7 separate regions of the Homo sapiens genome follow, and all the other regions are linked to region 7. Evidence: promoter capture Hi-C in human tissues and cell types (Jung and others, 2019). All regions are on one chromosome and are shown on one strand. Each heading gives the region's core, a stretch centred on a gene start or on the middle of the fragment in contact. The rest is flanking DNA. Distances are from core to core; before and after follow the strand shown. Region 1 overlaps LINC00174 (long intergenic non-protein coding RNA 174). Region 2 has its middle 3.0 kb from the start of LINC00174. Region 3 has its middle 26 kb from the start of LINC03011. Region 4 has its middle 51 kb from the start of KCTD7. Region 5 has its middle 54 kb from the start of LINC03011. Region 6 has its middle 46 kb from the start of LINC00174. Region 7 holds the start of ASL (argininosuccinate lyase).

What was found. The method cuts DNA at HindIII sites, captures the fragments that hold promoters and counts their contacts. A contact is called where the count stands out against the background at its distance.
Region 1: a fragment that was not itself captured here is called in contact with the fragment with the promoter of ASL in region 7 in 3 of the 25 tissues and cell types used here (lymphoblastoid cells, mesenchymal stem cells and thymus).
Region 2: a contact is called between a fragment that was not itself captured here and the fragment with the promoter of ASL in region 7, in 1 of the 25 tissues and cell types used here (mesenchymal stem cells).
Region 3: a fragment that was not itself captured here is called in contact with the fragment with the promoter of ASL in region 7 in 4 of the 25 tissues and cell types used here (heart right ventricle, mesenchymal stem cells, spleen and 1 more).
Region 4: a fragment that was not itself captured here is called in contact with the fragment with the promoter of ASL in region 7 in 1 of the 25 tissues and cell types used here (mesenchymal stem cells).
Region 5: a fragment that was not itself captured here is called in contact with the fragment with the promoter of ASL in region 7 in 1 of the 25 tissues and cell types used here (lymphoblastoid cells).
Region 6: a fragment that was not itself captured here is called in contact with the fragment with the promoter of ASL in region 7 in 3 of the 25 tissues and cell types used here (IMR-90 fibroblasts, mesenchymal stem cells and thymus).

What each region holds. Positions count from the first base shown.
Region 1 is chr7:66,376,725-66,380,444 of GRCh38, reverse strand. It overlaps LINC00174 (long intergenic non-protein coding RNA 174), which reads left to right. Exons shown (of 5, transcript NR_026873.1): 5 at 442-3,720. Among named protein-coding and RNA genes, the nearest start is that of LINC00174, 22 kb to the left of the region's middle. The HindIII fragment of the contact is 3,814 bases long and covers 173-3,720 here.
Region 2 is chr7:66,401,426-66,405,408 of GRCh38, reverse strand. No RefSeq gene overlaps it. Among named protein-coding and RNA genes, the nearest start is that of LINC00174, 3.0 kb to the right of the region's middle. The HindIII fragment of the contact is 3,022 bases long and covers 1-2,866 here.
Region 3 is chr7:66,465,601-66,469,383 of GRCh38, reverse strand. No RefSeq gene overlaps it. Among named protein-coding and RNA genes, the nearest start is that of LINC03011, 26 kb to the left of the region's middle. RefSeq lists a silencer at 3,771-3,783. The HindIII fragment of the contact is 5,421 bases long and covers 1-3,783 here.
Region 4 is chr7:66,575,692-66,579,349 of GRCh38, reverse strand. It overlaps the pseudogene RABGEF1P1. Among named protein-coding and RNA genes, the nearest start is that of KCTD7, 51 kb to the left of the region's middle. The HindIII fragment of the contact is 3,042 bases long and covers 2-3,043 here.
Region 5 is chr7:66,545,570-66,549,234 of GRCh38, reverse strand. It overlaps the pseudogene LOC100420547 and the pseudogene RABGEF1P1. Among named protein-coding and RNA genes, the nearest start is that of LINC03011, 54 kb to the right of the region's middle. The HindIII fragment of the contact is 6,781 bases long and covers 1-3,665 here.
Region 6 is chr7:66,444,617-66,448,470 of GRCh38, reverse strand. It overlaps the pseudogene RABGEF1P2. Among named protein-coding and RNA genes, the nearest start is that of LINC00174, 46 kb to the right of the region's middle. The HindIII fragment of the contact is 4,488 bases long and covers 1-3,848 here.
Region 7 is chr7:66,073,627-66,077,238 of GRCh38, reverse strand. ASL (argininosuccinate lyase) reads right to left here and starts at 1,420. Exons shown (of 17, transcript NM_000048.4): 1 at 1,383-1,420; 2 at 1,146-1,200. The coding sequence starts at 1,157. RefSeq lists an enhancer at 870-1,149 and a silencer at 1,250-1,779. The HindIII fragment of the contact is 4,995 bases long and covers 736-3,612 here.

The sequences.
Region 1 (3,720 bases), core at 830-3,329, 300 kb before region 7:
GAGTAGCTGGGATTATGAGTATGCACCACCACACGCAGCTAATTTTTTTCTTTTTTTGGATAGAGACAGGGTGTTGCCCAGGCTGGTCTCTACCTCCTGGCCTCAAGCAATCCTCCTGCATTGGCTTCTTAAATTACTGGCATGAGCCACCATGCCTTACTTTGGCTAGTCCTATATTCTCTAGAATTCTCTTTACTTTGTGCTAGCCAATCTCTCATGCTGTTCCCCTGTTATAATGAATAATTATCTATATTAAATTTTAGCACTTTGGGCTTTTGAGTGGTTTATGTCTCCTGATTGGACCCTGACTAATACAGAGTTGATGCTGGGAAGGGTCCCAGGAGACAGACCCACACAGATGGGATTTGGGGATCAGTTTGGTTATCTTAGGGGCCGTGCTGAGCTCCTTGCAATGGGAAATGGGATGCTGTTGATTTCCAGGAAGTGACCTCACAATGACTCAAGCTACCACTTAGTGTTGATTGTGATGAAATGCCAGCTGTGGCATATGCCTTGGGAGCTAAGTGGCTGCTGCACTTGACCACTATGAAGACTGGTGTGGAAGGGTCCTTCTGGATGTACTTGGGCAGGGTCCCCAACGCCAGAGCCATGGAACTGTAAGGAGCCACACAGCCGGAGGTGAATGGTGTTGAATGAGGGAAGCTTCATCTGTGTTTACAGCCACTCCCCATTGCTCACATTCCTGCCTGAGCTCTGCCTTCTCTCAGATCAGCAGCAGCATTAGATTCTCATAGGAGCATGCACCCCATTGTGAACCATGCATGTGAGGGATCTACGTTGCGCTGTCCCTATGAGAATCTAATGCCTGATGCTCTGTCACTTTCTCCAATATTATCTTCAAGTGAGCCACTCCTGGCCCAATTCCTGTCTCCCGTTGGCCTATAGAGGCCAAGCCTCTGCCTCATGATGGCCTCTGCAGGTCAAGCTCCTCCTCCTGGTTCCGTCTACAGGCCCAACACTTCCCTCAAATAAACTCTTCTGCCCAGCTCCTGTCCAGCTCACGGCAGCCACTGTCGGCATGAAAATTCCTCAATTCAAGCTCTCTAGGCCCACCTTCTGCCTCCCACTGGCCTGGACACGCCCAGCTCCAACCTGACAATGGTCTCTACAGGCCCAGCTCATCGGGCTCTGAGGGACCTCTCCAGGCCAAGCTCTTACCTCACGGAGGCTTCTCCAGGTCGTTTCTCCCTGTCTTCAGGCAGTGGTGACAGGTCAGCTCCTCCTCCACAGTGGCCTCGTTTGGGCAGGTCCTGCCTCTTGCAGCCTCTCAAAGCCCAGCTCCTGCCTCTGAGTGGCTTCTGCGCACCCAAATGTCCTCCAGTCAGCCTGTCCTGGCTGAGCTCCTGCGACCTGGCTGAGCTCCTGCCTCCTGTCGGCCTCTATAAACCCAGCCTCTGCTGTATGGTGGCTTCTTCAGGCCCAGCTCTTCCTCCTGGCGGTGTATACAGGTCCAACTCCTGCTTCCCAATGGACTCTTTAGGCCAGGCTCATGCCTTACGGCAGCCTTTCCTGGCCCAGCTTTTGCCTGTTGGCATACCCTCCAGGCCCACAATGTACTCAGATCAGCCACTCCATTCCCAGCTCTTCTTCCTGGCTGTGTCTACAGGCCCAACTGCTGCCTCACAACACCCTCTTTTGGCCCAGCTCCTGCCCAGCACCTGGTGGCCTCTATATGCCCCAGACTTCTTAAAGTCAACTTTGCTAGGCCCACCTTTGGCCTCCCAGCGGCTTTGACAGGACCAGCTCTTGCCTCATGGCAGCTTCCCAACGCCAGGTTTCTGCCTGCATTGTGGCATCCTTGATGGACCCAACTCTTGCTTTATGCCGGCCTTCCCACACCAAGTTTCTGCCTGCCTCATGGCAGGATCCGATAGGCCCAGCTCCTGCCTCTAATGGCCTGGTTAGGCTCATCTCATCCCTCAAGGTGGCCACCCCAGATGAAGCTCCTGCCTTTTGGCAGCCTTTAGAGGCCCAGCTCATGCATCTCATTGCCTCTTGAAGCCCAGCTCATTCCTCAAAACGGCCTATCCACGCCCAGCTTTTCCCTTTGGTGGCTTCTCCAGGCCCAGAAATTCCTCAGTTCGGCTTCGCAAGGTGAAGTTGCTGCCTCCCTGTGCCTTCTCCAGGCCCAGTTCTTCCTCCCAGCTGGGTCTACAGTCCCATCTCCTGACTCAAAACAACCTATTTTGGCTCGGCTCCTGCCCAGCACCTGGCGGCCTTTGTAGGCCTAAAGCTTCCTCAAGTCAAGCGTTCCAGGCCCAGATCATGCTGCCCAGGGGCCTTCACAGGCCCAGCTACTGCCTGACGATGGCTTCCCCAGGCCCAGGTCTTGCCTTCCCCCAGCCTCCCGAGGCCCAGCCCTTGCCTCACAGTTGCTTTCCCAGTCCACGTTACAGCCTGTTACCCGACGGCCTTGACAGACCAAACTCTTCCTTCACACTGGACAGTTTAGGACAAGCTCATACGTCTTCCAGCCTCTCCAGGTCAAGCTCCTGCCTCACACTGGCCTCTATAGGCCCAGGTGCTGAATCGCAATGGTCTGTTTAGGTCCATCTCATGCCTTTCTCAGACTCTCCAAGCGACGATCTGGCCTGACACTTGCTTCTGTGGGCCATGTGATCACTCACACTGGCCTCTTTAGGATCAGGGGATGCCTCTCCACAGGCCGAGATCCTGCCTGTTGTAGGCCCCTTCAGGATGCGCCGCTGCCTGACAGTGGACCCTCCAGGCCTAGATGTTACGTGATCATGGCCTCTGCAGGTCAAGAATTTAAATTTTCGCAGCCTCTATAGGCCAGGCTACTGCCTCCTGATAATGGCTTCTGCAGGCCCAAATCGTCCTGAAATAAGCCTCGCCAGGAACAGCACGTGTGTTGGATGCCCGAACAACCATAGCTTCTCCCGCACAGTGGCCCATGGGGGCCGGGCTCTTGCCTCAGCCTGGCCACCTCAGGCCCAGTTCTTGCCTGTTGGCGGCCGCTCCAGGCCCGGCTCCTGCCCCTCGGCCTCCTCTCCAGGCCCAGAACTGGTTCCCGTCGGCCTCTCCAGGCCCAGCTCTCCCGGCCACCTCCACGGGCCCAGCTCCTGCCTCACGACAACCACGTTCGGCCCAGCTCCTGCCCAGCTCCTGGCAGCCGTTGTAGGCCCCAGGCTTCCCTGCGTTCAGGCCTCCCGGACCCACCTTCGGCTTTCCGGCGGCCCTGAGAGACCCGGCTCCTGCCTGCCAGCGGCCTCTCCCGGCCCAGCTGCGGCCTCACGTCGGCCTCCCCAGGCCACGTTTCCGCCTGCCTCACGGCAGCCCCGGCAGGCCCGGCTCCCGCCTGCCGGGGGCCTCTTGAGGAGGCTCATCTCGTGCCCGGCCGCGGCCTCCCCAGGCCAGGCTCCTGCCTGCCGGCAGGCGCCACAAGCCCAGCTCCTGCGTCCCGAAGGCTTCTCTAGGCCCGGCTCGTGCCTCGCTGCGGCCTCTTGAGGCCCAGCTTTTCCCTTGTGGTGGCCTCTCCAGGCCCAGAACTTCCTCAAGTCGGCCTCCCCCGGTCCAGTGGCTGCCTCCCGGCCTCCTCTCCGGGCCCAGCTCTTTGCTCGCGTCTGCGCCCGTGGGCCCAGCTCCCGTCTCCAAACAGCCTCCTTCGACTCGGCTCCTGCCCAGCTCCCGGCGGCCTTCGTAGGCCCGAAGCCTCCTCCAGTCCAGCTCTCCAGGGCC
Region 2 (3,983 bases), core at 106-2,605, 330 kb before region 7:
TTCTCAAAAGTAAATTAGTTCATAGTAGTCAGTTGGCACATTTGGCAGGTACTTCTGTGAACTTTTTTTTGCTATCTTTAAACTCTTCATTCATTGATCCCGTTAATCCAAAGCTTATTTAATAACATAAGCTTTTGGTTGTCAATTAGATGTCAGGAAAAACAGAGAAATGAACAGCTAATATAATGAGTTAAAAGGATTGAGGCTGTAGGAATAATGTTACCAAGAATAACTTGAGGATTGTTTGCTACTATAGCTAGCTGTGATTATCAAAATAGGGAGATGCCTGTTTTTCTCACATAAAAGTAATTGTGCAGGTAGGCTGAGGCTGACATTGGTTCAGTTGCTCAAACATGGTAAGACTGGCTTCCCTGTGCCTCTCTTCACTCTCCTTTCTGGTGCACAATGACCAAGAGAGCTCCTGTCGTCATGTCTCCATCCATCATGTCTCCATCCAATTATAAGTAAAGAAAATGCAGCATGAGCCCTGCCTGCACCCACAGTCAGGAAAAGCAAGAGGCTTTTTTTGAATCCTAGCAGAATTTTGCATAAGCCTCTTGGTTTTAAAAAAGGTGAATTTTAAAATAATAAAATAAAATAAAGCACAAACTCTGAGGCCAAGGTAATAGGATTTAAATCTGTGCTCTGCCACTTAGAAAAATTACTTAAATTCTCTATTCTTTAGGTTGCACACATATAAAATGGGAGGAAGAAAATAATATTTGACTCATGGTTTTTAAAATTTGAGGTGTTATTTCTTTAATAAACAGCTGCTATCATTTGAGAACACTTGCTATTTAGGCAGTTAGGAATTTTTCATTAGAAGGGATGTAAAGAAAGACGATGGGCATTTGTAATGGATTTAACATTCATCATTTGGCTGCCTGACTGACCCCCAGAGCTGTGATTTTACTAATGAATTTTTCAGAAGTCCCTTAGCTAGCAATGAGCCTAACCAGCCTCCCACTCTCACCATTCAGTGCTCTTGTTCTTATGTGTTTCTCTACAAACTTGGTTACTCTCACAAAGTGATAAAAACTTGCATTTCTTTTCTTTCCTTTTTAGAGACAGGATCTTGCTCTGTCACTCAGGTTGCAATGCAGTGGTGTGATCATGGCTCGCTGTAGATTCAAACTCCTGGGCTCAAGCAGTACTCCCGCCTCAGCCTCCCAAGTAGCTTGGACTACAGACGTACACCACCATGCAAAGCTAAATTTTTTATTTTTTTGTTGTAGAGATGGGATCGTGTTATGCTGCCCAGGATGATCTCAAACTCCTGTCCTCAATTGATCCTCCTGTCTCAGCCTCCCAAAGTGCTGGGATTATAGGCAGCCATGGGCCATCTGGGTCCAGTCTGCTATTTTCTTTTTTTAAATAACAACTTTATTGAAATGTAGTTCACATACCATGCAATTTGTTTATCAAAGTATGCAATTCAGTGGTTTTTAGAATATTCATGGAGCTGTGATCTATCACCACTATCCATTTTAGAAGCTTTCATTACCCTATAGAGAAATCCGCTGTTCTTTGCCACTAGCTAAGAACATGGCGGGGAGTAAGCTAGTGGCTTACTCCCCTCAACGCTTCTGTGTTCCCCATAGGCAACCACTGATCTATTTTTTGTCACCATAGATTTGCCTAATCTGGACCTTCTATATAAATAGGGTTGTGCAATATGTGATTGTTTGTGGCTGTTTTTTTTTTTCCCTCTTAGCACAGTGTTTTCAGAGTTCCTTCCTGTCATAGCATGTGTCAGTATTTCGTTCCTTCTATGGCTGAATAATATTCCATGGTACAGAAACACCACATTTTATTTATTCTTCAGTTGATGAACATTTGGGTTGTTTCCATGTATTGGCTGTTAATGAATAATGCTCCTATGAAGATTCATGTACAAGTTTTTGTGTGGACATACATTTTTATTTTTCTGGGATATATACCTAGGAGAGAAATTGTTGCATTCTATGATGTTGTACATTTAGCCTTTTGAGAAACTGTTTTCCAAAGTGGTTACACCAGTCAGGTGCAGTGACTGATGTAATCCCAGCTACATGAGAGGCTGAGGTGGGAGGATCACTTGAGCCTATGAGTAAAGAGAGACCAGCCTGGGCAAGATAGCAAGACCCTGTCTCGGTTTTTGAAAAATCAAATTAAAATGACAAGAAGACAGGTGCGGTGGCTTATGTCTGTAATCCCAGCACTTTGAAAGGCTGAGGTGGGTGGATAACTTGAGGTCAGGAGTTCAAAACCAGCCTGGCTGGGTATGGTGGCAGATGCCTGTAATCCCAGCTACTCGGGAGGTTGAGGCAAGGAGAATTTTTTGAACCCAGGAGGTGGAGGTTGCAGTGAGTCAGGATCACACCACTGCATTCCAGCCAGGGCAAAAGAGTGAGACTCTGTCACACAAAAAAAGTAAAAATATAAATAAATAAATAAAATGACAAGAAAAGAAACACCCAAAGTAGTTAAACCATTTTGTGTTCCCACCAGTAATGTATGTGGGTTCCAATTTCTCCACATTTTCACCAACATTTCTTTTTTTGAGACATGATCTCGCTGTGTCACTTAGGCAGGAGTGCAGTGGTGTGAACACGGCTCACTGCAGTCTCGAACCCCCAGACACTCGTGATCCTTTTATTTCAGCCTCTTGAGAAGTTGGGACTACAGTCAAACTCCAGCACACTCAGCTAATTTCTTTTATTTTTAGTAGAGACAGGATTTCACTATGTCGCCCAGGCTGGTTTCTAACTCCTGGACCCAAGTGATCCACCTTCCTTGGCCTCCCACACTGCTGGGATTATAGGTGTGAACCACCATGCCTGGTCCTCTCTCTCTTCTCTCTCTTCCCTTTCTTTCTTGGTAGAAGGAAACGTGTCATGTACCAGCTATCCATCCAATGACTGCCCATCAGTTCCATATTCACCCTTCACTGCCTGATCTGCAAACATAGAGGTGGGTTCCTTAAATGCTTCTTCTGTCAGCTGGTACATGATTAAATGTTGTCAGTACATAGTACTAGAGGGACCTTGTAAGAGGCTTTTCTTTCTGGTTGTGGTGTGCGAATCTCCACAGGCACTGAGCTTCTCCAGTACCGGGCTCTTGCCCTGCACGGTGCTCAGCAGCACCCAGTGACCAGCAGTTTCTCTGCACCTGCCTGGGTGGATTTGTAGTGAGACAACTGTTCATTAATAGCTTAATCTAGCACCCCAGAGGGTGAATTTTCAGCAAATTCCAGAGGGCAGATTGCTAGCATGTTCGACCATGTGGTAATGCAGCAATTCTGCTATTGAATTACCCATGACTGTGCTCTCTCCAAGTGGGGGCTGGATCTCAGCCATAGTGGGGGAGTCTTTTCCTTGATCACAGTATCTCAGCATTGGGACAGTAGGGACAGTTACTGCTTGTTATATCAGCTGGTCCTATACTCTTTTTGGAGACAGGGTCTCCCTCTGTTGCCCAAGCTGAAGTGCAGTGGCAAAATCATGGTTCACTGCAGCCTTGACTGCCCTGGCTCGAGCAATCCTCCCACCTCAGTCTCCTAAGTACGTAGGACTATAGGTGTGTGCCACCACACCCAGGTTTTTTGTTGTTGTTGTTAGTTAGTTTGTTTGGGTAGAGACAGGGTCTCACTGTGTTTCCCAGGCTGGTCTCAAACTCCTGGCCTCAAGGAATCTTCCTGTCTTGGCTTCCCAAATTGCTGAAATTATAAACATGTGCCACCATGCCTGGCCTCTGCTAGTCCTATATTCTCTAGCATTCTCTTTACTTTTTGGTAGCAAATCTCTCATTATGCTGTTGCCCTGTTATAATTAATAATTTTTTATTTTAAATTTAACACTTTAAACTTTTGAGTGGTTTATGTCTCCTGTTAGGACTCTGACAAATACAGAATTGATGCTAGGAAGGGTCCCGGGAGATAGACCCAGACAACTGGGATTTGGGGATGGGTTTGGTTATCCAAGGGGCAGCGCTGAGCTCCTTGC
Region 3 (3,783 bases), core at 572-3,071, 390 kb before region 7:
TAGAAGACCATTGTCTAGAACTCATTCCTTAAGAATGCTCCCCTGCTTGCTCTGCTCATTCCAGCAGCAATCAACTCTACATTTTATTCCAGGGAGTTGATTATCATTTGGAATTATTTGTCTAGACTAATGTTTGGATACTTTGTTTTGTTATATTTAACATTAAAACTCTGACATTGATTCTGTGTGACATTCACATTCATTTTGGAAGCATTGTATTTAATCATATGAAAGTTGGTGAAACTTGGATTACAGATTGCAAATGCTAATAAGTCTTTTATTAGAATTACGGTGTCTTCATACCATCAAGTTGAGGACTGAAAAATATTTAAGAAGAGTACCTATAAATCGAAAGAAAACAGTAATGACATAGAAAACTGAGCAAAGACAGTTAATTTATTCAAAGAAATTATACTAGTGCCAATAAATATCTGTAAAGGTGGCTAACCTTAGGGAAAAGCACGTTAAATGAATTTTTTTTGTTTGCCTGTCAGACTGACAAAAATTAAAGTTCGATAATGCTATGCTTATGAGGTTATGGGAGACCAGATTCCCTCATACACTGTAGGTGGGAATGTAAATGGTATAGCCTTTTTGTCAGACCAGTTTGGTATATGTCAGAATTTTAAATGCACATACCCTTTGGCATTCCGTTTCTGTTTCTAGCAAACTGCTCACATTTTGCGGTCTGCTCAAGGTCATGATCTGCTCATAACCTTGTCCTGCTTGGCTATCAAAGGTTTATAAATTTTGTTAGTACTATTTCTGAATTTAATAAAATACTTCATTGTCCTGTTTACTTCAGATTTTTTTTCTAGTCCCTTATTTGCTTTTATGTTTTGGCTACAGATAGCCTATCAAGAACCAGCTAGATGTTTCAGTTTATGTATTTTAAGTTTTGTTTCCATTTTGACTTTCCCTGCAGTTTGTAAACTTAGATAACCCTCACCTCTTTAGAACTTTCATGAATACTTCATTTTAGTTCTTTCTATTTTCTGTTTGTTTCTACAAACTTTTAACTTTTTAAAGATACCTGTAATTAATGTAGGGGGTATCAGATTGCTGACCAGTTATTACAACACTATTGAAAATTTCCCCTTCCCCTCCTTCTTCTAACATTAAATTACCTTATATTAGATTAGATTAGATTAGATTCATTTTTGAGTCAGTCTGTCCTGTAGTGGTTTGACAGGTCTGTTCTTGAGTTCACAGTCTTCTAACTAGTTTGCAAATAAAAATTCAGAAAATTAATTTAGAAAATCAAAAAATAATTTAGTGTTTATTTTTGCTGACAGAATCATTTTGTTGAGTTCCAGAAAGTCTTGTGGGATTTTTATTGCCATTTGTAGTAAACTTACACATTTTGGAATGTTTGACATGGTTATAAGATTTTATTTTCGCACATTGCGTTAAGTATATCTCAGTGTTTCCATGTGGATTATAATTTTCTCATTAAAATATTTTCTATAAGTCTTTACATATTCATGCTATTTTGACTGATATCTCTTTTTATACTTTCTAACTTGTTATTGTTTGTCTGTTACAAGAGTTCCACAGATTTCGTGTACCTATTTAGCTTATTTCACATAAATATGAATTCTTTTATGAAAGTTAGCCATTTTAAAGTTAATTTCTCAGCAGTAACAGTGTTTTATTTTCTTTAGGCCTTCCAGATATACAGTCATATTTCTTATATTACACGGTAAGCTCCACAAGGACTGAAATGATTTATTTTTACTTATATTTGTGTCCTAAGTGCCTGTCATTCAGTAATCAATCAGTATATAAATATTTGTTGAATGAGTGCAAGGGAACACTATAAGAATATGTACCATATACAGTGACTCTATGACTAAAACTTTTTTTTCTACTTGTCTATATATATCAGGTTTTGTAAATAATGAGTATTCTTTGCTTCAACTAGAAAAAAAAAACAAATTTAAGGGAAAAAAATCACCTGTAAGTTTTATTTCTTAATTGAGGTCAATGGATAGCTTATCATTTTGCTGGAATTGATTGGATGTTTCCTGTAAGTCCCAGATGAGTTGTCTGGAGATAGGAATGACCTCTGAGGGCATGACATTGAACCCAAGAATAGGAAGCAGGGCCCGCTCAAGGATAGAGGGAAACTACTCACATCTGTAAAGTGTTTTGGTTTTGCTTTTCTGAGATGAAACTGGTTTGCATCCAGAGTCTTAAGAAAGAACACTAATAGTTCTGTGAGCTTTGTAAGTAAGCTTTGTACCTCTCTGGTCTTTGTAGGTACCTGGACCTAGAATAAATCCTAGCCCTGGGGCACAATTTATAGAATCCTAACTGTCCCAGCAGCAGAGATCATTTTTACTCTGTCTTCCCTGACATAAGTGGGACCAATTGAATCGTGCATTCTTTATGCCCAGGTTGCTCAATCAAGCTCCTATTTATTGGAGTGCAGTGCTCAAACAGGAGTGGCATGTGGCCCCTTGGAGCTCCCTCCTGGAAGCAGTGCTGGTGGTGGTTACCTGTCTAGGGACAGGTCTGTCTGCCCAGGAAAGAGTTGAGTCTCATGCAGTCGATCCCCCATGTTTCTTCCTGTGTTTACAGGATATGCTGTCTGTAGCTCTGATGTCCAATCTGGGTGTGCCGACTCTCCTGCCTTCTACCATAACAGCTGTCGGCACCACCACATAGCCTTTCAAATGATGGCACTCTCTTTTGGTGGTACCCTTGCTCTCTTTTTATACTTAGAAGCAGCAGAATGATCTGAGTGTTGTGTTTAACTGATACACATTAGTCCCATGATAGGTGTTTATTTTTATTAAAAAACATTCATGTGTGATTTTTAACAAAACTTTAGAATTTGGAATAATTAATAACGTCAAATCCATAGGAAGCTGTAAGGATAATACAGACAGGTCCTGTGTACTCTTCTGGTTTGCTTAATGGTTACATCTTACATAACTATAATATAATGTCGAAACTAGGAATTTGATATTTGTGCAATGTATGTGTATAGTGTCATGCACATTTTATCTCATACATAGATTCCTGTAGCCACCACCATAGTCAAGATACAGAACTATTCCATTACCCGAAAGACCTCCCTTATGCCCTTTTAGTCACATCCTATGTCAGCAGTCCCCAGGGCTGCCCCCAGGTTTCGTAATTCGCTCAAGGCTCTCACAGGACATTCTTTGCTATGGTTTGTTACAGTGAGGGGATACAAAGCAGGATTAATAAAGGGTAGTTGTGCATTGAGAAGATTCTATAGGACACGAGCATTGTGAAGATTCGGAGTCTTCTCTCCGTAGAGTTGCCCAGTTTGTGCTTACTTCCCCAGCCATAAACTCTAGCAACACATGTGAAGTGTTTTCTATTGTGAAAGCTCACATGAGCCTCAGAATCCAGGGCTTTTATTGGAGATGGGTCACATAGTGTATTAGTTTGTTCATTCTCACATAGCTATAAAGAAATACCTGAGACTGAGTAATTTATAAAGAAAGGAGGTTTAATTAGCTCACAGTTCTACAGGCTGTACAGGAAGCATTGCAGCTTCTGCTTCTAGGGAGGCGTCAGGAAGCTTCCAATCATAGTGGAAAGCAAAGGGGGAGCAAAGTGTCTCCCCTGGTGGGAGCAGGAGCAAGAGAGAAGGTGCTACACACGTTTAAACAACCAGATCTCACAAGCACAGAACCACAGGGGATGGTGTGAAACCATTCATGAGTAACTGCCCCATGATCAGATCACCTCTCACAGGCCCCACTTCCAACATTGGGGATTTCGATTCACCATGACATTTGGGTG
Region 4 (3,658 bases), core at 273-2,772, 500 kb before region 7:
CTCAAGTGTTTTGTTTTGTTTTGTTTTTTGTTTTTTTGAGATGGTGTCTCGCTCTGTTGCCCAGGCTGGAATGCAGTGGCGTGATCTTGGCTCATTGCAACCTTTATCTCCCTGGTTCAAGTGATTCTCGTGTCTCAGCCTCCTGAGTAGCTGGGATTACAGGCATCTGCCACCACGCCTGGCTAATTTTTGTATGTTTAATAGAAACGGGGTTTGCCATGTTGGCCAGGCTGGTCTCGAACTCCTAACCTCAGGTGATCCATCTGCCTCGGCCTCCCAAAGTGTTGTGACTATAGGTGTGAGCCACCGTTCCCGGCTGAGGTTGGTTTTTTTTTGTTTTGTTTTGTTTTTTTTATCATAGAGTAAAATTGATTTGGGAGGAATATAATGTTCTGCAAATTTCTAAATTTTAATAGATTTATGTAAACACCTCCACAATCAGAATACAGAACAGTTTCATCACCCCTAAAAACTTTCTCGTGCTAATCCTTTATAAGTCACATTCTTTCCTATCCCTAGTTCTTAAATGGAATCTTACAGTATGTAAACTTTTAAGATGGCTGCTATGGTCTGAATCTTTGTGTGTCCTCCAAATTCATATGTTGAAATTCTAATCCACAAGGTGATGCTACTAGGAGGTGGAGCCTTTGGGAGGTGATTAGTTCATGAAAGTGGAGCCCTCATGATTGGGATTAGTGCACCTATAAGAGACCGCAGAGAGCCTAGCCATGTGAGGACACAGGGAGAAGGTACCTTCAGTGAACCACCAGACACCAACATCTGTTGACTTCCTGATCTTGAACTTGCCAGCTTCCTGAACTGTGAGAAATAAATTTCTGTTTTTTATAACCTACCCAGTTTATGGTATTTTGTTACTGCAGCCAGAAGGAACTAAGATGCTGGTTTCTATCAGCATAAAGCCTCTGAGATTCATCGAAGTTGTTGGGTGTTCTGATACCTGTTGTTGTTGTTTTCCTGAGTAGCATTCTGTTGTATGGATGTACCATAATTTGTTTATTCATTCACCCATTGAAGGATATTTTAGTTGTCATTTTTTGTCATCACAAATAATGCTACTATAACTGTGTATAGAATTTTGTAAATAGCAGTTTTTATTTCTCTAGAGGAAATACCCAGGAGAGGGATTGCATGGTTGGATGGTCATTGTATGTTACACATTTTTAAGAAACTATGGAAGTGTTTTCTCTAGTAGTGTCTGTACTATTTTGCATTCCACTAGGAAGGTATGAGGGTTTTAGTTGCTCTGCATCCCTGCCACCCCTTGGTATTGTCAGTATTTATTTTTTTTCTGAGGTGGGGTCTCACTCTGTCACCCAGGCTGGAGTGCAGTGGTGTAATATTGGCTTGCTTCAACTTCCACCTCCCAGGCTCAAGTGATCCTCCCACCTCAGCCTACTGTGTAGGTGGGACCACAGCCATGCACCACCATCGCTGCCTAATTTTTTTTTTTGTATTTTTTTGGTAGAGACTGGGTTTTGCCATGTTGCCCAGGCTGTGTCAGTATGTTTTATTTTGGCCATTCTAATAGGTTTGAGTGATATCTCATGGTGGTTTTAATTTGCATTTCTCTAATGATTGAACAATGTTGATCAACTATTCATGTGCTTATTTGCCACCACGTCAAAAACTGCAAATGTTTTTTTTGTAGTAGCCATCCTAATGGGTACAAAGAGATATCTCATTGTGGTTTTGATTTGCATTTCCCTGATTTAATGATCTTGAACACTTTTTCACGTGATTATTGGCTGTTGGTATGTCTTTGGAGAATTGTCTATTGCAGTCCTTTTCCCATTTGTAAACCGGATTATCTTGTTTTTTTTGTTACTGAGTGGTAAGAGTTCCTTTATGTTCTGGATATTAACTCCTTATTAGATATGTGGTTTGCAGATATGTTCTACAATTCTGTATATTGTTCCTTCTTACTCTGTCATTTGCTTCCTATGTTGTGCAGAGATATTAAAATTTGATGTAATGTATTTGTCTGATTTTGCCTTTGTTGCCTGTGCTTTTGGTGTCATATCCTAGAAGTCATTGCAAAATCCAGTGTTGGGAAGCTTTTCCCCTAAGTTTTCCTCTAGGAGTTTTCTAGTTTCAAGCCTATACATTTAGGTCTTTAATCCAATGTTAGCCCTTTCTTAATGAGTTCTTTGTATTTTGGGCAGGGAATAAGTCTTTCTTTAATGTAACTGTCAGGAATTTACTATATTTAACTTTTTCCTTCTTCCTTCCTCCCCTCTTTCCCTCCCTCCTTCCCTTCCTCATTCATTCCCTCCTTCCCTCTCTTACGGCTTGAAGATAATGGAATCACTCAGGTTTTGTTCGTAACTGGTAAGGTTTTAGTTTAGTAGGATGATAATTCATTTTCAACAGCACTTTCTTGTTTGTTCATTGGTTAGCAGGAAGAAGATGAGCCTTAGGTCTGAACGCCGAGGAATTCATGTGGATCCTGTGCAAGAAAGGATGTGGTTACTGTGGCAACCCTACCTGGCAGGGTTTCTGCTCCAAGTGCTGGAGGGAAGAGTAGCACAAAGCCAGGCAGAAGCAGATTCAGGAGTACTGGGAGCTGGTGGAACGGTAAAAGGACTTAACTAGGGGCGGTTGATCAGTGATGTGACTGGATACATAGCTCTGTCACCGTGCAAATACATTTTTTCTCTTCTGCATTCAGCTATCAGCAAGTCAGTTTAATATTAAGGAAAAGGATGTTTTCCCCTCTTCTTCTCAGTCAACCTTTAATGAACAGCTTTCAGTAGTTTCTTCATTTTGTGTTTGTCTTAACTTCTGGTTATTTTCTTTGGATTGTGTTAGTCTTAGTTCTCAAATTTAGACAAATTCCTTGGAGTGGAAGAATGGAGACAGGCATATTTCCTGGTGAAGATTAAATGAGCTAATAAATATGATGTACCCAGCGCAGGGCTTGCAAATGGCAGTCATCAAGCATTATTTCTCTCGTTCTTTTACTATATTCAGCATGGCATGTAGCTCAGTGATAAAACAGTAGTAGAACTCTGGTGACTCGTATACATAGTCCTTGCATTATAGAAATTTATTCCTTAAAAATTAGGTTACTCAAAGGCAGTTTGTATTATCTGGATATACAGTGATGTTAAAAATTAAATGATGGGTCGGGCGCAGTGGCTCACGCCTGTAATCCTAGCACTTTGAGAGGCTGAGGCAGCTGGATTACCTGAGGTTAGGAGTTCGAGACCAGCCTGACCAACATGGTGAAACCCAATCTCTACTAAAAATATTTAAAAAGTTAGCCGGATGTGGTGGTACGTGCTTGTAATCCCAGTTACTTGGGCGGCTGAGGTAGGAGAATTCCTTGAATGCAGGTATCGGAGATTGCAGTGAGCTGAGATCGTGCCACTGCGGTCCAGCCTGGGCAACAAGGTGAGACTCTGGTCTCAAAAAAAAAAACAAAAAACAAAACAAAATTAAATGATGGGATGGCTAGTGAGCATAGGAACTAGTAAAATGCCATAAATAATGTTAATTCTTTGCCAGAGCATTCTAGAAATTCTAAAACTGCTTCAACAGAAGAAAGTCAAATGGAATTCTGCTAACTCTTGCTAGTTTTTTTTTTTTTTCATCCAGTCAGCCAATATTTGTTGAGTTGACTTCTTTGCTGGTATCT
Region 5 (3,665 bases), core at 610-3,109, 470 kb before region 7:
CAGGCTGGAGTGCAGGGGTGTGATCTCAGTTCACTGCAACCTCCGCCTTCCGGGTTCAGCAATTCTCCTGCCTCAGTCCCCCAAGTAGCTGGGATTGCAGGTGCCCACAACCACGCCCAGCTAATTGTTGTATTTTTAGTAGAGATAGGGTTTCACCATGTTGCTCAGGCTGGTCTTGAACTCCTGACCTTAAGTGATCTGCTTGCCTCCCAAAGTGCTGGGATTATAGGCGTGAGCCACTGCACCCGGCTCTACCTTTTTTTCAAAAGGAACAGTCTAGTCCCCACAGGGCAGAAGGGTGGCTTCCTTGCCTCCGACTCACCTGGCACCTTGGCATCATTGCAGATTTCTGCAAAGGGTCTGAAAAAGAAAGAAAAGAGGTGGCAGTTAGAAAATGAGGTTTTCCCCTCCTTTTTTTTTTTTTTTTTTTTTTTTTTGAGATGGAGTCTCGCTTGGTCACCCAGGCCGAAGTGCAGTGGCACAATTTTGGCTGACGGCAGCCTCCACCTCCTGGGTTCACACCATTCTCCTGCCTCAGCCTCCTGAGTAGCTGGGACTACAGGTGCCCGCCACCACGCCCAGCTAAGTTTTATATTTTTAGTAGATACGGGGTTTCGCCGTGTTGGCCAGGCTGGTCTTGAACTCCTGACCTCAGGTGATCTGCCTGCCTCCGCCTCCCAAAGTGCTGGGATTACAGGCATGAGCCATTGCGTTTGGCCGTTTTCCCCTCCTTCTCACCTGCCCTCTGAGATGTGGTGCTGCTGCTGCTGCAGGAGCCTGGTAACACCGAAATAAAAATGGGGAACACACCGTCCCGACAGAGCATTCCCCATATAGGCCCTGGACGATGGACCTGGGCTGGCAAATCATTCCTCCAGGTCTGCTGTCCTCATCTATAAAGCGAGGATATTGTCTGACCAAGGGATCAGAAACGTGTGCCCAGATTTATGCAAGTGGATAGTCATCACAGCATTATTATCAATTACTATTTTTGAGACAGTCTTACTCTTTTGCCCAGGCTGGAGTTCAGTGGTGCCATCCTAGCTCACGGCAGCCTCAAAGTTCTGGGCTCAATCAGTCCTTCTGCCTCAGCTTCCCAGTAGTTGGGAATGCAGGTGCACACCACCATGCCCGTCTAATTTATTTTTTAATTAATTAATTTTTTTTTTTTTTGAGATGGAGTCTTGCTCTGTTGCCCAGGCTGTTGTGCTATGGCATGGTCTCAGCTCACTGCAACCTCCACCTCCCAGGTTCAAGCGATTGTCCTGCCTTAGCCTCCTGAGTAGCTGGGATTACAGGCGTGAGCCACCACACCTGGCCGTTTTCCTGCATTTTCTAGTTGTTACTTCGGGGGGGTGAACTATCTGTGGGAGAAAGGGAAACCTCCACTTTTTGATTTTGAACAATTTGGGTTTTTTTGACACATGCAAATATTATCTTAATTTAAAAAAACATGCAGGTCAGCACAGTGGCTCATGTTTGTAATCCCAGCACTTTGGGAGGCCAAGGCAGGCGGATCACTTAAGGTCAGGAGTTCGAGACCAGCCTGGCCAACATGGTGAAACCCTGTCTCTACAAAAATACACAAATTAGCCGGGTGTGGGGGCAGGCACATGTGATCCCAGCTATTTGGGAGGCTGAGGCACAAGAATCACTTGAATGCCGGAGGAAGAGGTTGCAGTGAGCCAAGATGGTGCCACTGCACTCCAGTCTGGGTGATAGAGCAAGACCTCATCTCAAAAAAACAAAGAAACAATACATGTAATATAACATTGAAGGCGGGCTGGGCGCAGTGGCTCAAGCTTGTAATCCCAGCACTTTGGGAGGCTGAGGCAGACAGATCACCTGATGTTGGGAGTTCGAGACCAGCCTGACCAACGTGGAGAAACCCCGTCTCTTAAAAATACAAAATTAGCTTGGGTGGTGGCGCATGCTTGTAATCCCAGCTACTCAGGAGGCTGAGGCAGGAGAATTGCTTGAACCTGGGAGGTAGAGGTTGCAGTGAGCCAAGATCGTGCCTTTGCACTCCAGCCTGGGCAACTAAAGCAAACTCCATCTTAAAAAAAAAAAAAAGAAAGGCCGATGTGGGAGGATGGCTTGAGCCCAGGAGTTTGAGACTAACCTGTGCAATAAAAAAAAAAAAAAAAACAAACGTCTGGGCGTGGTGACTCATGCCTGTAATCCCAGCACTTTGGGAGGCCGAGGCGGGTGGATCACCTGAGGTCAGGAGTTCGAGACCAGCCTGACCAATATGGTGAAACCCCGTCTCTACTAAAAATATTTTAAAAAAATTGGCCACGCGTGGTGGCATGTACCTGTAGTCCCAGCTACTCAGGATGCTGAGACAGGAGAATTCTTGAACCTGGGAGGTGGAGGTTGCAGTGAGCTGAGATCACGCCACTGTACTCCAGCCTGTGCGACAGAATGAGACTCCATCTCAAAAATAAAGTAATAATATATTAATAAAATAATAATTTAAAAATATAAAGAAATGCATCAAAGTGTTGACTTTCAGTAGGAGACTTACAGCTATCTTCTTTTCTTCTATCTTTTCATATTTTCCAGGTTGTTTTGTGTATTGTTCTGAAAATAAGCGAATCATCTATTGTATTAAAAAAAAAAAAAAGACTGGGCCACACAGTTTGGGTGTGGTGGCTCACGACTGTAACCCCAGCACTTTGGGAAGCCAAGGTGGGAGGATCACTTGAGCTTAAGAGTTTAAGACCAGCCTGGGCAACACAGTGAGACCCTGTTGAGGCTGCAGTGGGTCAGGATCATACCTCTGTACTCCTGCCTGGGCAACAGAGTGATACCCTGTCTCAAAACAAAAACCAAAACCCAAAAGACTGTAAGGATATATGGTATAGTAGTAATAACGGAGGCTGGGTGCAGTGGCTCACACCTGTAATCCCAGCACTTTGGGAGGCTGAGGCAGGCAGATCACTTCAGGTCAGGAGCTCGAGACCAGCCTGGCCAACATGGTGAAACTCCATCTCTACCAAAAAATACAAAAATTAGCCAGGGTGGTGGTGCACACCTGTAATCCCAGCTACTTGGGAGGCTGAGGCATGAGAATGGGTTGAAGCCAGGAGGTGAAGGTTGCAGTGAGCTGAGATCGTGCCACTGCACTCCAGCCTCGGTGACAGAGCAAGACCCTGTCTCAAAAAAAAAGAAAAAAAGGTAATCACTGAGACTATGGAATTATAATTATTTTAAAAAATATAATAAATATTCATATTTATATTTAAACATTGATATTTAAATACAAACGTATTTATATTTAAATGTTAAAAATCAGAATTGTATAGTCAGAAACAGTCAAATTTAATTAAAACATGTTTTTGTTTCTTCCCCAGAGAACAAATATAATATCTAAAAAAAAAAAAATCTTTAAAAATAAGTAAATGTCCATAAGTGTTGAAGTTGTATGTTTCAGGAGAAAGAGGCAGGAACTATTGTAGTACACCTGGGTCTGGATCCCAGCTGACCCACCATGACCTTGACTTTCACCCTCCCCATGGTCTTGCCCTCTCTGTTCCCCGTTCCAGAGGCTGGGCACTCACTGCAGCTGGCTAATGATGACCATGTGGACATGCTTTCGGGCCTTCAGGATCTTCTCCAGCCAGTGGATGTCGTACGTGTTGGGGTTCCGGAAAGGGATGTCA
Region 6 (3,854 bases), core at 355-2,854, 370 kb before region 7:
ATTCCTATTTAGCTTAAAGTCTGTTTCTTGATGATATGTAGTGAAATGGTAAGTATGATAACAGATGAAATAGTAAAAAAAATCATCGAATTATCAGCTCTAATAGCCTCATTTTGCAGATGACAATATGAAAGTCCATAAAGGTTAACTAATTTACCCAAGGTTGAACGATGAGTTTGTGCATGAGAACTCAGGTTTCCTAACTCCTGGGTCAATATTTTTCCATTATATTCCTTTATTCAATGTGTATACTTCAGAAACCCAGGTTATTTAATGTATATAATAAATAGTAAATATATATATATAATCAAGTTTCTGTTACTTAAGTACATAATTGTCATTTATATTCGCTGACTCTCCTTGGTGGTTTTAAAAACCTGTGTCCCAAAAGCCTCTGTACAGTGTGCATGATACTATGGAAAGAAGATTTACAATTTAGTGCAGAGTCTGTACTTTAAAAAGAAACCATTCTCGAGTTGGGTGCAGTGGCTTGTACCTACCTATAATCCCAGCTACTTGGAAGACTAAGGTAGGAGGATTACATGAGCCCAGGAGTTAGTGGCTGCAGTGAGCTGTGATTGTGCCACTGTATTCCAGCCTAGGCAGCAGAGTGAGACACCATCTTTGAAAAAATTAATTAGTTAAAAAAAGAAACAATCCAAGTGACTTTTATTTTAAAAATGTGTATGCAGAATGGTTTTTACCTTTGTTCTTGTTTCTCCCCACCCCGCATCTTTTTGAATGGTAGATTTGTACTTTCTATTTTTTGTTCTTTAGTTGCTTTTTGTCAGTAGAAAGCTTTGGGGATAAAGATCTTAAAGTATTTGAAAATTTATGTTAGAAGAGAAGATTCCATTATGTCTTTGTTTCACAGATCACTTAATATAAGTTAGCCAGGTAAATTTTGCATTTCACACTGATTACTTGTTTGGCCATCGTGTTTGGATAAGGTTAGCCTAAGTGCAGTTTTAATGTATTGGGTCTAGACTAGAAACAGACTTTTTGGATTTTGTATTCTTGATCTTCTTTAGTCCGTGATGCCCTTGCTCTTGGTATTTTGCTTGTTTCTGTTAGTAACATAAAGGAAAGCTTTTCGCCATACACAGCAGCTTGGTAGCAGACAAAATACAAATAACCTTCTAAGGAATTTGAAGAATATTTTCACATTTTTTTAGAGTTGGATTCACTTTCAGAGAAAGTAAATGGAATGTCTTGACTGTAAAGACTCAGTTAAAGTGTTTTAGTCTCCACAGTCATGGTGAGTGAGCTGTATAGAGGAAGTCATAGTGGTTGGCCAAGCTGAGATCACTTGCTTATACATTCCAAAGTGCCCTTTTCTTTCAGAACTCCTATAATCTTGTCATCCCAAGTAGAATCTTGTGTACCTCTTTCACAAACAGATCTAAAGACAGTGATCCTCCAAAGCGTATCTTTTCTTTTTTAGAGTTAAAATACCAATACCACCCAGACCTTAGATTCTAAATAGTATTATTCATTAAAGTGAGCCAGGGCTTCTTAGAGAAATGACTGATTCTGGGGCTGGGGCAGGGAAAAAAAGGCCCCTTCAATATTTTGGTTACATTTCAGAAGATCTAGAAGCCAGCTTGGAGGGGTTTCCACTGGCCAAGTCTGGGATAATTTGAGTGTCAAAATAAACAAGGACAATAAGGCCGGGCACGGTGGCTCACACCTGTCATCCCAGCACTTTGGGAGGCCAAGTTAGGCAGATCACCTAAGGTCGGGAGTTCGAGACCAGCCTGGCCAACATGGTGCAACCGCATCTCTGTCTTTTTTTTTTTTTTTTTGGCACAACCCCATCTCTACTAAAAATACCAAATTAGTCAGGTGTGGAGGTGTGTGCCTGTAATCCCAGCTACTTGGGAGGCAGAGTCAGGAGAATGGCTTGAACCCAGGAGGTGGAGATTGCAGTGAGCTGAGATCGTGCCACTGCACTCCAGCCTGGGCAACAAGCGAGACTCCGTCTTAAAAAAAAAATAAAGTGAAGAAATCAATAAATAAGGACAATAAATGAAGTATAACTGAACAAAATAATAATCCGTGTGTTAATTTAACTAGTAAAATAGAGAAATACAGCTGGCACGGGGGCTCACGCCTGTAATCCCAGTACTTTGGGAGGCCGAGGTGGGTGGATCACCTTTGCTTGGGAGTTCGAGACCAGCCTGACCAACGTGGAGAAACCCGTCTTTACTAAAAAAATACAAAATTAGCCAGGCGTGGTGGCAGATGCCTGCAATCCCAGCTACTGGGAGTCTGAGGCAGGAGACTCGTTTCAATCCGGGAGGCGGAGGTTGTGCTGAGCCGAGATCATGCCATTGCACTCCAGCCGGGGCAACGAGCAAGACTCCATCTCAAAAATAAAAAAAAAATAAAAAAAAATAGAGAAATACACAAATGAGAGGTTATAGTCATGTTAGTAGCAAAAATTGATTCAGGTAAAGTTTATCTGGGTGCTAAATCTTGGATGAGGGGAGGGAGTTTCCCAGGAAACAAGTTACGAACATGATCTCAAATTCACTGCCAATGAATTATTTATGTGTTTATTTTTCTTTTTTTCCTTTTTTTGTGGAGACGGGAGGTGGGTCTCGCTGTGTTGCCCAGGCTGGTCTTGAACTCCTGGCCTCAAGTGATCCCACCACTGTAGCCTCAAAGTGCTGGGATTACAGGTGTGAACCACCATGCCCAGCCAGATTATTTATTAATTATAAATAGAGAAATGGTAACTATAAAATGGGGATGTAGGAGGCAAGGATAGATGTCATGTGTGCTTCCAGACATGACACTTTGAGAACACAACATCATTTATGAAATATCTAAGCCGAAAATTTTTAACAACCTGAATCCAGTCATGAGGACACCCAATCTAAATGGCATTCAACAAGATACCTGGCCTGTGTTCTTCAGAAGTGTCATGCTGAGAGAAACAAAGGTTGGGAAAATTGTGAACTGCTCATTGTGAACAATTGAGAAACTTGGAATATGGATTTTCAATTGAGTAAAAGTATTTTATCAATGTAAATTTTCCTGAATTTGGTAGCTATCCTGTAAGGTACATAAAACAATGGCTTAATCCCTTTGCATTGCTATAGAAGAATACCTGAGGCTGGGTTACTTATAAAGGAAAGAGGTTCATTTGGCTCACAGTTCTGCAGGCTGTGGAAGAAGCATGGAGACAGGCCAGGTTCAGAGGCTCACGCCCGTAATCCCAACACTTTGGGAGGCCGAGACAGGCAGATCACTTGAGTCCAGGAGTTGGAGACCAGCCTGGCCAACATGGCAAAACCCTGTCTCTATTGAAAATACAAAAATTGGCCAGGCATGGTGGCCCATGCCTGTAATCCCTACTACTTAGGAGGCTGAGGCAGGAGTATCACTTGAACCTGGAAGGCAGAGGTTGCAGTGAGCCGAGAATGCGCCGGTGTACTCCCGCCTGGGCTGCAGAGTGTGAGACTCCTCAAAAAAAAAAAAAAAAAAGAGAGAGATTGGGCAATGGAAGGCTTGATAATCATGGTCTACTTGCTATTCCTGAAATACAAGCTTTGTTTCTGTATTAAAAACATAAGGTGCAGCTTGGTCCAGTGGCTCATGCTTGTAATTCCAGCATTTTGGAGACTGAGGCAGGAGGATCGCTTGATCCCAAGAGTTCAAGACCAGCCTGGGTAACATAGTGAGATTCCATCTCTTAAAAATAATAATAATTAGCCGGGCTAGTGCCTGTAGCCCCATCTACTCTGGAGGCTGAGGTCGGAGGATCATTTGAGCCTGGGAGGTTGAGGCTGCAGTGAGCTGTGATCGTGCCACTGTATTCCAGCCTGGGTGACAGAGCGAGACCCTGA
Region 7 (3,612 bases), core at 171-2,670:
CTGGCTGGTCTGGAATTCCTGGGCTTCAGCAGTCCTCCCGCCTCGGCCTCCCAAAGTAGAAATATCAGTATTGTTGTGGTTAGCCACCATTTATTGAGCACCTACTGTTGCTCAGCCCTGTGCTAGGGATTTCACATATGTTATTACGGCCTTTTATGAGGTGGGCAATATTACCCCTATTTCACAAATGAGGAAAGAGGTTTAAAGGGCTCAAGTGACTGGTACAGAAACCAAGTCTGTTTGGCTCCAAAGTCCAGGCCCTACCCCCCTGCCATGACCCAGAAGCTTGCAGGGCACTGAGCTTGCAGGGCATTGAGAAAGAGGAAGTGAATTGCTAGCTAATGAAGGCCAAAAGGGCCTGGAACCCAGACCTCCTGCTTCCCGGAGTTCCCTTCATCAAGCATCAGGCGAACAGCCCCTCTCACCTGAAGGGTCCAAAGCAATGGCCTCATAATCTAGTGCCTTACAGAGTGAGGCCGACAGCTATTATTACCCCCATTGCCAGATAAATCAACTATGGCCCAAGGAAGGAAAACCTCTGCCTGGGAATCCAGCATCTCAGTGGTCAGGAGGAGAGGCCAGGAGCCACTGACCCTAAGAGGCAGGGTCCAGTGAGACAGGAAGGGACCAGGCACCAGGGTTGCTGGAGCCACGAGGCGACGTCCCCTTTTTCCTGGCTCTTTCCACATGCCACAGTCAAGGACAAGAACACTTAGGGGCTGAGCTTTATTCTATAAACAGGGACAATTGCTCTAGCAGGAGAAGGGATGTGGTGTGGGGTGGGACCTGACAGGAGGACACGTGGTAAGAAGGAAGGAAGAGTTGGAAGGCTGAAGGCTTGGGAGCCACTTTTCCTGGCCAGGCAGGCATCACTGTGAGGTGAGGGCAGAGCCACTCTACCCCTAGTAGTGTGGGTTGGTGGGTTTGCCACAAGGGCTGCCTGCGGATACTGGTGAGTCCTGGTAAAGGTGACTGCTGGGCTCCAGATGATGCGCCCGGGAGGGCTGGGGGTGCAGGCTTCCTAGGTAATTTTCAAAATTGCTTCCTGGAGGGCGATTCCCAGCAGGGTGGCCCGAGGCAGGTCTGGCGCCCCCACTCTCTCCTTTGGAGGCTAGGAGGACCGGAGTCCCCGAGGTCCCACTCACCTCCGAGGCCATGTTGGGCGGTTCCTCGTCGTCCGGAAGCTTCGGTCCTCCGGGTCTGGAAGACAAGACCGGACTGACGACCTCCTTGGCCAGCAGGGTCCCCCGGGCCGGGCTGGCTCCGAGTTCTGGGCACTGCGCTTGAGGGAGCGCAGCCCTTGGGGACGCGGACGTGAGCGCGCGCCACGGTGCTCGGCGTCCTCCACGCCCGTCCCGCCCATCCGGCCGCCGCGCACTCACCTCCGCCTGGCCGCACGGATAGTGTCGCGCCCGCCACTGGCCAGGGCTTTTCTGGCCGGGATGGCGTCAGCAGCCGCCGGTCCTGTCCCCACCCCTGGCGACGGCCGCGCCAATAGGAGGCCGCCCGGCGGGGTGGGCGTTGCCTCCATCCTCCAATCCTGGCCGTGGGCGGGGATACCTCCCGCTGAGCTGGAGGCTAAGCGGCCCCGGGGCGGGGAAGCGGGCGGGGAAAGGGTTGGGGGGACCCCGACGGGGAAGGGGCCTGGGCTGGGGTTGAGGAGGGTAGTGCGCTGGCGTTCGTGCTGTGGTCAGCAGACACGCAGGGGACTGGAGACTCGGGCCAGGGGTAGAGGCTATGACATCAGGCCCGGGCCTGGCAGGTTCACAAGATATATAAGGTGAAATGGCATGTTCGCTCATTCACTCATTCATTCATTCATTCAACAAACACGTACCAGGCACCTCTATGTGCCAGGTACAGAGAAAGGCATCAAGGAAAAAGGAAGGACCATCAGAAATGAAGCCTGTGCCAGGCGCGGTGGCTCACAGCTGTAATCCCAGCACTTTGGGAGGCCGAGGTGGGAGGATCGCTTGAGGCTACGAGTTGGAGACCAGCCTGGGCAATACAACAAGATCCCGTCTCTACAAAAAAATTAATAATAATAAAAAAAAAGCCGGGCGTGGTGGTGCACGCCTGCAGTCCTAGCTACTCAGGAGGCTGAGGCGGGAGGAGCACTTGAGCCCAGGAGTTCGAAGCTGCAGTGAGCTATTGTGCCACGGCACTCCAGCCTGACTCCTCTAAAAAAGAAAAGAAACGCGGCCGGAGGCCGGGCGCGGTGGCTCACGCCTGTAATCCCAGCACTTTGGAAGGCCGAGGCGGGTGGATCACGAGGTCAGGAGTTTGAGACCAGCCTGGCCAAGGTGGTGAAACCCCGTCTCTACTAAGAATACAAAAATTAGCCGGGCACGGTGGCGGGTGCCTGCAATCCCAGCGACTCCGGAGGCTGAGGCAGGAGAATCTCTTGAACCCGGGAGGCGGAGATTGCAGTGAGCTGAGATGGTGCCATTGCACTCCAGCCTGGGTGACAGAGCAAGATTCTGTCTCAAAAAAAAAAAAAAAAAAAAAAAGAAAGAAAGAAAGAAAGAAAGAAAAGAAAAGAAAAAAGAAACGCAGCCGGGCACAGTGGCTTACGCCTTTAATCCCAGCACTTTGAGAGGCTGAGGCGGGCGGATCACCTGAGGTCAGGAATTCGAGATGAGCCTGGCTGACATGGTGAAACCTTGTCTCTATTAGCCGGGTGTGGTGGTGGGTGCCTGTAGTCCCAGCTACTCCGACAGCTGAGGCAGGAGAATCACTTGAACCAGGGAGGTGGAGGCTGCAGTGAGCTGAGACGGCACCACTGCACTGCAGCCTGGGCGACAGTGAGACTCTTGTCTCGAAAAAAAAAAAAAAAAAAGAAAGAAAGAAAGAAAAAGAAAAAGAGAAGAGAAAACAAAGAAAGAAACGAAACAAAAGAAATGAAGCCTGACTTCAAGAAGTTCCAACATAGCATGGAGGAGGTGTGCAGGGAGCACAGGCGTTGGGGAGGGGGGCTATGTTGGGTACTCAGGGAAGAGGTCCTTGATCTGATTAATTAATTATTCAACCAAAATGTCAGGCTGGATTCTAGGCACTGGAAGTACCCTGAAGGGGCTTCTAATGAACCTGTCTTCTGCATTGGGTCTTGGAAGATGGGGGGAATTTGCCCAGGGAAGAAGGGGAGAACATTCCAGGCAGAGGGAGAAGTCTGGACAAAAAATGTGACTGGCCTGCTTTAAGAACAGGAAATCATCCAAGTGGCTGTAACTATAACAAAAGGTAGGGAGGAGAGGTGGAAGGAGTTTGGGAGAAGGCTGTGAAGAGTCTTCAATGTCAAGAGAGGGAGTTTGTTCTTGGTCCTATAGGTCATAGGAAACCCCGATCGATTTTAAAATCAGAGGAGCCAAATTTATTTTATTTTATTTTATTTTTATTTATTTTTTTGAGATGGAGTTTCGCTCTTATTGCCCAGGCTAGAGTGCAATGGCACGGTCCCAGCTCACTGCAACCTCTGCCTCCCAGGTTCAAGCGATTCTCCTGCCTCAGCCTTCCAAGTAGCTGGGGTTACAGGCATGCACCACCACGCCTGGCTAATTTTATATTTTTAGTAGAGATGGGGTCTCTCCATGTTGGCCAGGCTGTTCTTGAACT